2 separate regions of the Homo sapiens genome follow, and region 2 is linked to region 1. Evidence: promoter capture Hi-C in 16 types of primary human blood cells and fetal thymus (Javierre and others, 2016). All regions are on one chromosome and are shown on one strand. Each heading gives the region's core, a stretch centred on a gene start or on the middle of the fragment in contact. The rest is flanking DNA. Distances are from core to core; before and after follow the strand shown. Region 1 holds the start of INSM2 (INSM transcriptional repressor 2). Region 2 overlaps PRORP (protein only RNase P catalytic subunit).

What was found. The method cuts DNA at HindIII sites, captures the fragments that hold promoters and counts their contacts. A CHiCAGO score of 5 or more calls a contact.
Region 2: a contact is called between a fragment that was not itself captured here and the fragment with the promoter of INSM2 in region 1, in 1 of 17 cell types (fetal thymus). The highest score is 5.6, in fetal thymus.

The regions. Positions count from the first base shown.
Region 1 is chr14:35,529,835-35,535,457 of GRCh38, forward strand. It overlaps INSM2 (INSM transcriptional repressor 2), which reads left to right and starts at 4,330. Exons shown (of 1, transcript NM_032594.4): 1 at 4,330-5,623. The coding sequence starts at 4,419. RefSeq lists enhancers at 3,124-3,948, 3,949-4,772, 4,773-5,596, 5,277-5,426, 5,597-5,623 and silencers at 3,767-3,846, 3,947-4,316. The HindIII fragment of the contact is 12,180 bases long and covers 2,037-5,623 here.
Region 2 is chr14:35,143,722-35,149,401 of GRCh38, forward strand. All of the region lies in intron 4 of PRORP (protein only RNase P catalytic subunit), which reads left to right. The region is part of intron 4 of PRORP-PSMA6 (PRORP-PSMA6 readthrough); the gene reads left to right. It also overlaps the pseudogene RPL23AP70. Among named protein-coding and RNA genes, the nearest start is that of PRORP, 24 kb to the left of the region's middle. The HindIII fragment of the contact is 525 bases long and covers 2,486-3,010 here.

The sequences.
Region 1 (5,623 bases), core at 3,080-5,579:
TTTATAGAGACAACAGACAATTAACAAATACATAATACAGTGGCAAATAGTGATAAATGCTATGAAGAAAAAGTAAAGGGACAGAAAATGATGAAGATATCCTTCAGGCAGTAGAGAAAAAGAAGAAAATGATGAAGGGTGATGGTGGGTTAGGGCTGTTATTTTAGTTTGGGTGGTCAGGGAAGATCTTTCTCAGGTGGTATTATTTGAGTAAAGATCCACAAATGAAGTTAAGAAACAAGATGTGAACATATCTGAAGAAAAAACATTCTGGCAGAATAAACAGCCTTGAGGTGGAAGTGTGCTTGTCATGTTTGAGGAAAATAAGGTGTCCACTTAGATGGAGCAGACTGAATGAGGAAAAGAGGAGTGGGAGATGTGGTTTAAGAATATCCAGGGACCAAGCAGAGCTTTGGATTTTATTCTAAATGTGTTGGGAAGCCACTTGAAGATTTTGAACAAAAGAGTGAAAGAATCAGATTTATATTCTAATAGGATACAACTTGCTGCTGAATAAAGTATACACTATAAGGAGGCAAGGATGGAAGCAAGAGACCAAATAGAGTAACAGTGGTAGAGAATTTGAGAAGATTCAGATTCAGGAAATGCTTTGAAAATAGAGCTGATAAGAACTGCTAATGGATTGAATATGGGGTGTTTAGCTTTAACCCAAAGTCTTTGGGTTTTGGCTGAGGCAACTAATTGAATGAAGGTGCCATTTACTGGGATGAGGAAAACTGAGATGGGGATTAAGTTTAGGAGAGGAAATCAAGAGTTTGGTTTTAGATTTGTGAGAGACTGTTTGACTTTCAAGTTCCTAGGGACAATGGGCCTGTAGTAGCTGCAGCTGGTGTTAACCTTTTACAGGGACATGTCTAAGTGGAGGTGAGGGGGCAGAGAAACAGAAGAAATAAAGTTCCTTCTGAGTAATCTCCCAGATATTCAAGTGATAAAAAGCAGGTTAGTCATCTGAGCCTGTCTTATACACACTGATTTCAGGGCAAGAAGAAGTCTCCTCTCTCTTCAAAAAATGTTCCGATTTCTATTGTCTCAAAATTTCTGAATTTAAATTAAATGTATCCCGCAATTAGAGAAAGCAGAAAATGTAAATAGCTTGAGAGATAATCCAGTGCGTATGAGTTTTTACCAAAGTATAACTGAGAGCAGATGAAGGTCCTGAATGTTTAATCTTTTTGTGAAGAGAAAGGAGGTAGATATTAAATAAAACAAAGATTTTATAATCTTGCTTTGGCAATGCCCTATTTATCGTAATTTTTAAGTGAGAAACTACAGAAAGAGTGTTTGTATCTTGAAGGATCATCTAAGTTTATACCCAAGGGGGGATTACGCATTTAAATTCTTTCTCTTCCCCACATTTTAATCCTTTCTATCTTTTAACCCTTAGTCTTTTCCCAAAAGTGTTCTTCAACTAGAAGGCCTGTGGCATGATTGAGGCTTGTCAACTCTCTTCTAGGGCCAGATTTCAAACAGATGGCCCTGGAGAATGCTACTTATCTGTACAGTTCTCCATTTGATGTTGCAGTGTGCTAGTATCCTAGGGGAAGGGTACCACATTTAACTCCAGAAAGGATTTAAGGCAGTTTTGCAATTTTTTTTTTTCTGATTATCAGAGTAATATACGATTATTGCAAAATATTTTAACAAAAAAGTTAAAAAAAGACTATTTGAATTCCTACTTACTAGAGGCAATCCCAACAACATTTTGGCATATTTCCTTCCACTGTCTTATATGCATTTCGTTTTTTTCATAACTGAGCTCTTTATTGTACAAGCAACTTTTGCTGCCTGCTGTTTTTGCTTAGTTATGGTATATATGTTTGTCTCTATCATTACATTTTTAAAGCTACGTAATCATCTATAACACGGCTATACTATAGTTTACTCAAGATGGTTTCTGATTATTTATAATTACAAATAACACTGTGATAAACAGCTTTGTGCATAAATCTTCGCTCTTCTTTTGGATGACTTACTAAAGGAGGAATTGGTAGATTAAATGTATACATACTTTTTAAAGCTTCTGATGTAAATTGTTACAATGATTTCCAGAAAGGATGTTATTAAATTACACTTGGGAAGGGAAGGAGAGAGCTATTGGAACTATCGGATCTGGTAGAAAATATCTGACAGCAATTCTTACAAAGTACTATGCCCCTGGGGAAGAGTCCTTTCTCTCTCTGGAAAAGGGGTTATCTTAAAGTATTAAAATTATTACATCAGATTTTCCACACCACACAATATGTATGGATCATGAGGAGGAAAGGAGAATTGAGAATTTGAGTTAGAAGTCACATATAAGCTGACATGTCAGAAATGACCAATTTGGGAAACTAAGTTTACCAACACTGCTAAAGGACTCAAATATTTTAAACAGTGGTTCAGATATTGTGATTATGCAGTATCAGGTTTATTTAATTTTGTATCATTTCATGCTATTTAATGAGACAATATAATGAGTGTTTTTCAAACTGTGGGTCCTAATCCATTTGTAAATTATGAAATCAATGTATTTTCTATGACTGCTATTTTTAAGAAACAAAATACAATACAATGAAAAATATGAGAATGCACTGCAAACATTTCAATGTATGATTTCATAATTTACAAATAGATTAGGACCCACAGTATTATTTTGTGAGACTTTTGTTTCAGTTACATGTGTGTATATACTATAGAACACATTTATTATTGTGGGATGTGATTAAGGAAAAAAATAGTTTGAAGCCATTGGTGTAGTGGAAAGAGTCTGGGCTTTGGAATTAGCCAGAACAAGTTTGAATCTGAGCTCTGCTTGGCTTTTACCCATTATCTAACTAAATGGCTCAATCACCACATTGAAAAAAGAGAGAAATAATATCTCCTTTTTGGTTTGTGTGTGTACATGTTGTGTGCGTGTGTATGAAGATTAGAGATTACTTAAGCAGAATGCCTATAACATAGTCAATGATTAATATATAATTACTTCCAAATCTTTCTCAAAATAATGTTCTCCCTGTAAAAATACTTCACTGAAGAAAGACAATGTGTTTTATTGATGACTACATCTGTTATGCTATCGTGTACTTTTAAAACACCTCTGTCAGTCTTTTTCTCCAATTTGGTTTAGTAAGGAGACTTGTGCACATAGTCTTTCCCCTTCCTGTTCTCACACTTTATTTACCTATATTATGGATCTTGGCACTTTATATCTGTCATAGATGGTCTAATTGTTGCCTAGTTCAATTACTACTAAACACTTTCAAACCTCTTCTAGTTCTCAAAATAGTGGTGGGAGCATTGCAGGGTGCCAGATGAAAATCTGTTGAGTTTGCTCTACAGCACACCTTTTGCAAAGTATCACTTGTGGTGTACGGGGAAGCAGCTGTAATGCTGATTCCGCCGGCATTTCTCACTCAATCTACTCCATGCTAAACAGGCCGGTTAGGAATTAAGTCATACTCTGGGTAGTACAAGTGGAAAGTGTGAACAGAGAAACCACTTTATGCGAGGACAGTGGAAAATGAGATCCTCCTTTCCTCTCCCTACTCCTGCTCCTATCGAGAAGCACTTAAGAGCGCAGACGCCCAGGACCCAGCCGCGCTCGGGCGTCCCGACTCGGAGGCTGGCGGCGGGCAGGCACGCTCTCCCGCGCTGAGAGCCCTTCTGCGGAGATGAACTCTCGAGTGTCGCCGCCGCGCGCGGGCCCGATCGATACCGGCGGGCGGACGTGCTCCCGCCGCCGACAGCAGCCACAGGGCGGTGCAGTCAGCTGTCCGGCCGCTCGGTCGCACTTCTCATCAGCTCAATACCCGCAGAGGACGTGCACCGGTTCCCTCCCGGACACCCACCCCGTGGTCTCCGCCGCACCTTCTGCCCACCGCCCCTTCCGCTCGGCCGTCCGGCGCAGAGCGGGAGCTTTTCAGCCAGACGCCCTCGCGTTGGGGGCAGCCGGGTCCCGGCCCGAGCGGAGGGCGTCGTGAGGTGGCCTTTTCGCCCGGCTCCCCAGTGGGACGCTCCGCGGAGGCAGCCAAGGCGGGGAGTGTCGAGCTCCCTCACACTCTGGACCTTACCTTCTGGCGTCTTCGCCCGGGAGGCTGCAGGGGGAGGCGGACCCAGCCGGCCACAGGGGCAGGTTCGCGGCGCTGTGAGGCGGGGCTGGGCGTGCGCCGCCGCCGCCGCCAGATTCGTCTACTCCAGTGAATCGGCACGGGAGAAAGCCCCGCCCCCGGCGCCCGCTCCCACTCCTGATTGGCCGGGCCAGCCCGGGGAGGCCCGGCGGGACCCCGGCCCGCGTCTCAGCTATAAAGATAGCCCCGGCATGACAGCCGCGGCGAAGCTCTTCTAGTTCATCTGCTGGCCGGCTCTCAGTCCCCGTGGCGCCCCCTTTCCTCTTGTCCCAGAGCGCTCTCGACTCCACCATGCCAAGGGGATTCCTGGTGAAGCGAACTAAACGGACAGGCGGCTTGTACCGAGTTCGCCTTGCGGAGCGTGTCTTCCCTCTGCTGGGGCCCCAGGGGGCGCCGCCCTTCTTGGAGGAGGCTCCCAGCGCCTCCTTGCCCGGCGCGGAGCGGGCGACACCCCCCACCCGAGAGGAACCAGGAAAGGGGTTGACGGCGGAGGCGGCCCGGGAACAGTCGGGGTCGCCATGTCGGGCGGCTGGGGTGAGCCCGGGGACGGGCGGGCGGGAAGGCGCGGAGTGGCGGGCGGGTGGCAGGGAAGGTCCCGGGCCCAGCCCCAGCCCCAGCCCCAGTCCAGCGAAGCCGGCAGGCGCAGAGCTGCGTCGGGCGTTCCTGGAGCGCTGCCTCAGCTCGCCCGTCTCCGCCGAGTCTTTCCCCGGGGGCGCCGCCGCCGTGGCCGCTTTCTCCTGCTCCGTGGCGCCAGCAGCCGCACCGACCCCGGGGGAGCAGTTTCTGCTGCCGCTTCGGGCGCCGTTCCCAGAGCCCGCGCTTCAGCCGGACCCTGCGCCCCTCTCGGCCGCCCTTCAGAGTCTGAAGCGGGCGGCCGGCGGCGAGCGCCGCGGCAAGGCACCCACGGACTGCGCGTCTGGACCCGCGGCCGCGGGAATCAAGAAGCCAAAGGCCATGAGGAAGTTGAGCTTTGCCGATGAGGTGACCACATCCCCTGTCCTGGGCCTGAAGATCAAGGAGGAGGAGCCCGGAGCGCCGTCCCGGGGCTTGGGGGGCAGCCGCACGCCACTGGGGGAGTTCATCTGCCAGCTGTGCAAGGAGCAGTACGCAGACCCCTTCGCGCTGGCCCAGCACCGCTGCTCCCGCATCGTGCGCGTAGAGTACCGCTGCCCTGAGTGCGACAAGGTGTTCAGCTGTCCTGCGAACCTGGCCTCCCATCGCCGCTGGCATAAGCCGCGTCCTGCGGCTGCAAACGCCGCCACAGTCTCCTCCGCCGACGGGAAGCCGCCTTCTTCGTCGTCTTCGTCCTCCCGGGACTCCGGGGCCATTGCATCTTTTCTGGCGGAGGGAAAGGAGAACAGCCGAATAGAGCGGACTGCGGATCAGCACCCGCAGGCCAGGGACAGCTCCGGGGCGGATCAGCACCCGGACAGCGCCCCGAGGCAGGGCCTCCAGGTGCTGACGCATCCAGAGCCACCGCTGCCTCAGGGCCCCTA
Region 2 (5,680 bases), core at 1,498-3,997, 390 kb before region 1:
ACCGCAACCTCCGCCTCCGAGGTTCAAGCGATTCTCCTGCCTCAGCCTTCCCAAGTAGCTGGGATTACAGGCATGCGCCACCAAGCCTGGCTAATTTTGTATTTTTAGTAGAGATGGGGTTTCTCCATGTTGGTCAGGCTGGTCTCAAACTCCCGACCTCAGGTGATCCGCCCACCGCAGCCTCCCAAAGTGCTGGGATTACAGGCGTGAGTCACCGCGCCCGGCCAAAGACAGGTAGTTTTTTAAATAAGTGGCAAAAAAAAAACCCTTATATTTAGAATTAGCTATTCGGACTCAGTTTAGGTTATCCCAGTTTTACTGGCAACATCCAAAACATCATAGTTAGGAGCCAGTCAAACATAGGCTGCCTTCTCTCCATCAGTCCTGATTAGGGTGTTGATCGTGGTCATGTCAGTGTCACAGACCTTCATATAGCCTGTTTGATCTGGTGCTTGTTGGCTTTGATAACCACAGTGAACACAGATGTGGTATTGTCTTCTTCATGGTCAGCTCAGTGGTCAAGGGGAACTTGATGGCATAATAGTCCAGCTTGTATATCCTGCAGGTTCTCTACTGAGGATGTTTGGGCTACCTTCAAAGCCAAAGTGTGTTGGGCTACTGGAACATAGGTGACCTGCAGATATTTTTTTGTGTGTGTGACTGGATGCCTTTCAACACTGCCTTGCTGGCCTTAAAAGCCTTAGCTTTGGATTTGGCTTTGGGAGGAGCAGGGATTTCCTTCTTTGCTTTCAGCATCATCATTTTGGTGAAAAGGGTTGACACCTGGATTTTTATATCTATTTCTATATTCAGTCTGTTGTGGTATGGTATGGCGTTTTGGTAGAAGCATATGAAGAAAATGAAAGCTCATGGAAATAGGTAGTTGGAAAGCAAAGAGGATTTTGTTGGCTCTTGGAGATAATCATAATCGTTCTTTGATACTATGCCCAAACTCTACTGTACACTTGTGAGCAAATGAGAGTGAAAAAGGCATATAACGTCTTAGCATTATGAAAATAGTTTTAACTTTGCAGATCCCCTGAGAGGGTCTTGGGGATACCCAGCAGTCCTTGAACCACAGTTTTAGAAAGTACTCTGGTTTAGATATGATTTTCTTTTTCTTTCTATTGTAAAAGTTCAAGTAAAGTTTATTTCCCTCTATCTTATTACACAAGCATATTAACAAAGGAAGCTAAAACAAAGACAGCAGTCTCAGTACTCAGTATATTTTCTATTAGTTTCTTATGTTCTTTTTTAGTTCTTTTGTTTGTTTTAAGAGACCCTTGTCACCCAAACTAGAGTGCAGTGGCGTGATCATAGCTCATTGCAGCCTCAACCTCCCAGGCTCAAGTGATCCTCTCACCTTAGCCTCTTGAGTAGCTAAGACTACAGGCACACACCACCACGACCAGCTAATTTTTTAATTTTTTGTAGAGATGGGGGATCTCACTTTGTTGCCTGGGCTTGTCGTGAACTCCTGGGCTCAAGTAATCCTCCAACCTTGGCCTCCCAAAGGGCTGGGATTACAGGCGTGAGCTACTGCACCTGGTGCTTTTTTAGTTCTTATTGAGACTTCTTAATCATTTTCTTTTACTTTTCAAAATGGAAGTGGGTTTTATCCTGATTATAATATTTATTAATTATAAAAAATTTCATCAACACCTGTGAAAAGGGGAAAATTTTTTTTTTGGTCAAAATAGCTATAAAGAAAGATAAAAGGCCGGGCGCAGTGGCTCACGCCTGTAATCTCAGCACTTTGGGAGGCCGAGGCAGGCAGATCATAAGGTCAAGAGATCAAGACTATCCTGGCTAACATGGTGAAACCCCGTCTGTACTAAAAATACAAAAATTAGCTGGGCATGGTGGCATGCGTCTGTAGTCCCAGCTACTGAGGAGGCTGAGACAGGAGAATTGCTTGGACCTGGGAGGCGGAGGTTGCAGTGAGCTGAGATCGCGCCACTGCACTCCAGCCTGGCGACAGAGCGAGACTCCATCTCAAAAAAGAAAGAAAGAAGGAAGGAAGGAAGGAAGGAAGGAAACAGCCCACCATGATCCATTCATTTTGAACTTTAATTTTATTTGATTATTTATTTATTTATTTATTTATTTATTTTTTTATTTTTTGAGACAGAGTTTTGTTCTTGTTGCCCAGGCTAGAGTGCAATGGCACCGTCTCGGCTCACTGCAACCTCCGCCTCCCGGGTTCAAGCGATTCTCCTGCCTCAGCCTCCCAAGTAGCTGGGATTACAGGCGCCTGCCACCACACCCGGCTAATTTTTTTATATTTTTAGTAAAGAAGGGGTTTCACCATGTTGGCCAGGCTGGTCTCAAACTCCTGACCTCAGGTGATCCGCCCGCCTCGGCCTCCCAAAGTGCTGGGATTACAGGTGTGAGCCGCCGCACTCAGCCCCATTTTGAACTTTTAATGAAACTTTAATCATAATCACAGTCCCCATAATTCTGTGATTTAGAAGTTTTTAAATAAAGCTTTAATGATTTAGGATTCTCCTTTCTGGAAAAGAAAAAAAGGCAGGCAAATTGCCCGTGGTACATTTAATTGAGTTTTTAGGGTTAAGTTTAAAGCAAATCATTTGTCCTGCTTGATAGTATCTCTTCAGTTTATTGACAAAGAGGTGTTTCTCTAAATACAAATTTAAGACAGGACATATGACCCTAATGAAATGTCAGTATAAGAACTTATCTAATTTAGGTCTTTAGGGATTTTTTTTTCTTTATTTGGTTACAAACTGAAAGATGTGAACTGAGCTCTTTATCACAGTCTCCAGAACCTTCTCTTTTCTCTGGGTTTGAAGATCTTGTCATCTCTAAAATGAACTGTGGGTTTTTTTCCCCAGATTTAAATAAATGTTGTGTGGTAAATGGAAAACTTTGTGGGTTTAGTGATTTTTTAAAAATCTGAGAAAGAAATTTAATTATCTGCAAAATATAGTTTTAAACCATGTGTTTTAAAGTACAGGCATACCTTGAAGACATTGCAAGTTTGGTTCTAAGCTTTATCGTAAATATTGCAATAAAGTGAGTCACACAAATTTTTTGGTTACCCAGGTCGTATAAAAGTTATCTTTCCATGGCTGGATATGGTGGCTCACACTTGTAATCCCAGTGCTTTGGGGCCCAGGCAGGAACATTGCTTGAGGCCAGGAGTTCGACACCAGCCCGGGGAACATAGTGAGATCCCATCTCTACAAAAAAATTTTTTTTTTAGTTAGCTCGGCTTGGTGGTGTGTACCTGTAGTCCTAGCTACTTTGGAAGGCTGAGTTTGTAGGATCACTCAAGCCCAGGAGTTCAAGGTTACAATGAGTTGTGATTGTGCCACTGAACTCCAGCCTGGGAGACAGAGTGAGACTCTGCCTCTAAACAACAACAAAACTTATCTTTCCACTATGCTGTAGACTATTAAGTGTGCAATAGCATTATGTCTAAAAAAATATATATAGATACCTTAATTTAAAAATACCTTATTGCTAAAAAATATGCTGGTGGTCATCTGAGCCTTCAGCAAGTTGTAATCTTTTTGCTGATGGCAAGTCTTGCCTTGATGTTGGTGGCTGCTGACTGATCAAAGTGGTGGTGTTTGTTGAAGGCTGGGATAGCTATGACAATTTCTTTATTTTTTTGAGACAGGGTCTCACTCTGTCACCCAGGCTGGAGTGCACTGGCAAGATCATGGCTTACTGTAGCCTCCACTTCTCAGGCTCACATGATCCTCCCACCTCAGCCTCCTGAGTAGCTACAACTACAAGCTCACATGACCATGTCTAGCTAATTTTTTCTAATTTTTTGTCGAGCTGGGGTTTTGCCACATTGCCCAGGCTGGTCTTGAACTCCTGGGCTCAAACGATCCACCCACCTCAGCCTCCCAACATGCTGGGATTACAGGCATGAGCCACTGTGTGGCAATTTCTTAAAATAAGACAATAATGAAGTTTGCCACATAAATTGACTCTTCTTATCACAAAATATTTTTCTGCAGCATGCAGTGCTTTTTGAAAGCATTTTACCACATTAGAACTTTTTTCAAAATTGGAGTCAATCCTCTGAAATCCTGCTGCTGCCTTGTCAACTAAGTTTACGTAATATTCTAAATTCTTTGTTATCATTTTAACAATATTTACAACGTGTCTACTAGGAGTGAGTTTTATTTCAAGAAACCACTTTCTTTGCTAATCCATAAGAAGAAATTCCTAATCCAAGTTTTATTTTGTGATTGAAGCAATTCAGTCACATCTTCAGGCTCCACTTCTAATTCTAGTTCTCTTGCTATTTCCACCATATCTGCAGTTCCTTCTTCCACTGAAATTTTGAATCCCTCCGAGTCATCCATGAGGGTTGGTGTCAACTTCTTCCAAACCTGTTACTGTTGATATTTCAACCTCTTTCCATGAATCACAAATGTTCTTAGTGGCATGTAGATCGGTGAATCCTTTCCAGAAAGTTTTCCGTTGACTTTGCCCAAATCCTTCAGAGCAATCACTGTCTATGACAGCTATAGCCTTACAAAACATGTTTTTCAAATAATAAGACTAGAAAGTCGAATTTACTCTTTTATCCATGGGCTTTAGAATGGATGTTGTGTTGGTAGACATGAAAACAACTTTCATCTCCTTATACATCTCCATAAGAGCTCTTGGGTGACTAAGTGCATTGTCACTGAGCAATAATATTTTGAAGAGTCTTTTTTTTGGAGCAGTAGGTCTCCACAGTGGGCTTGAAATATTCAGTAAACCATGCTGTAGACAGATGTGCTGTTAGCCAGGCTTTGTTCCATTGATAGAGCATAGGCAGAGGAGATTCAGCATAATTGTTAAGGACTCTAAGATTTTTGGAATGGTAAACGGGCATTGACTTCAATAAAGTCACCAGCTGTATTAGCCCATAACAAGAGAGTCAGCCTGTCCCTTGAAGTTTTGAAGTCAAGCATTGACTTCTCTCTAGCTATGAAAATTCTAGATGGCATCTTCTTCCAATAGAAGGGGCTGTTTTGTCTCCACGGAAAATCTGTTGCTTAGTGTAGCCACCTTCATCAGTGATCTTAGATCTTCTGGATAGCTTGCTGCAGCTTCTACATGAGTACTTGCTGCTTCACCTTGCACTTTTTTTGTTTTTTGTGTTGGTTCCACCAGTCTGTGCCCATAACCTCCCAGCAGCCTACATGTTGCACTTTTTAATTTTTTTTTTTTTTTTTTTTTTTTTGAGACGGAGTCTCGCTCTGTGGCCCAGGTGGGAGTGCAGTGGCGCAATCTCGGCTCACTGCAAGCTCCGCCTCCCAGGTTCACGCCATTCTCCTGCCTCAGCCTCCCGAGTAGCTGGGACAACAGGCGCCCGCCACCACGCCCGGCTAATTTTTTTGTATTTTTAGTAGAGATGGGGTTTCACCGTGTTAGCCAGGATGGTCTCGATCTCCTGACCTCGTGATCCGCCCGCCTCGGCCTCCCAAAGTGCTGGGATTACAAGCGTGAGCCACCGCGCCCGGCCTAATTTTTTTTTTTAATACAGTGTCTCATTCTGTCATCCAGGCTGGAGTGTGGTGCTATGATCATAGTCCACTGGGGCCTCGAACTCCTGTGCTCAAGTAATCCTCCCATCTAGGCCTCCCAAGTAGCTAGGACTACAGGCATACCACCATACCTGGATCATTTTTAAATTTTTTGTAGAGAT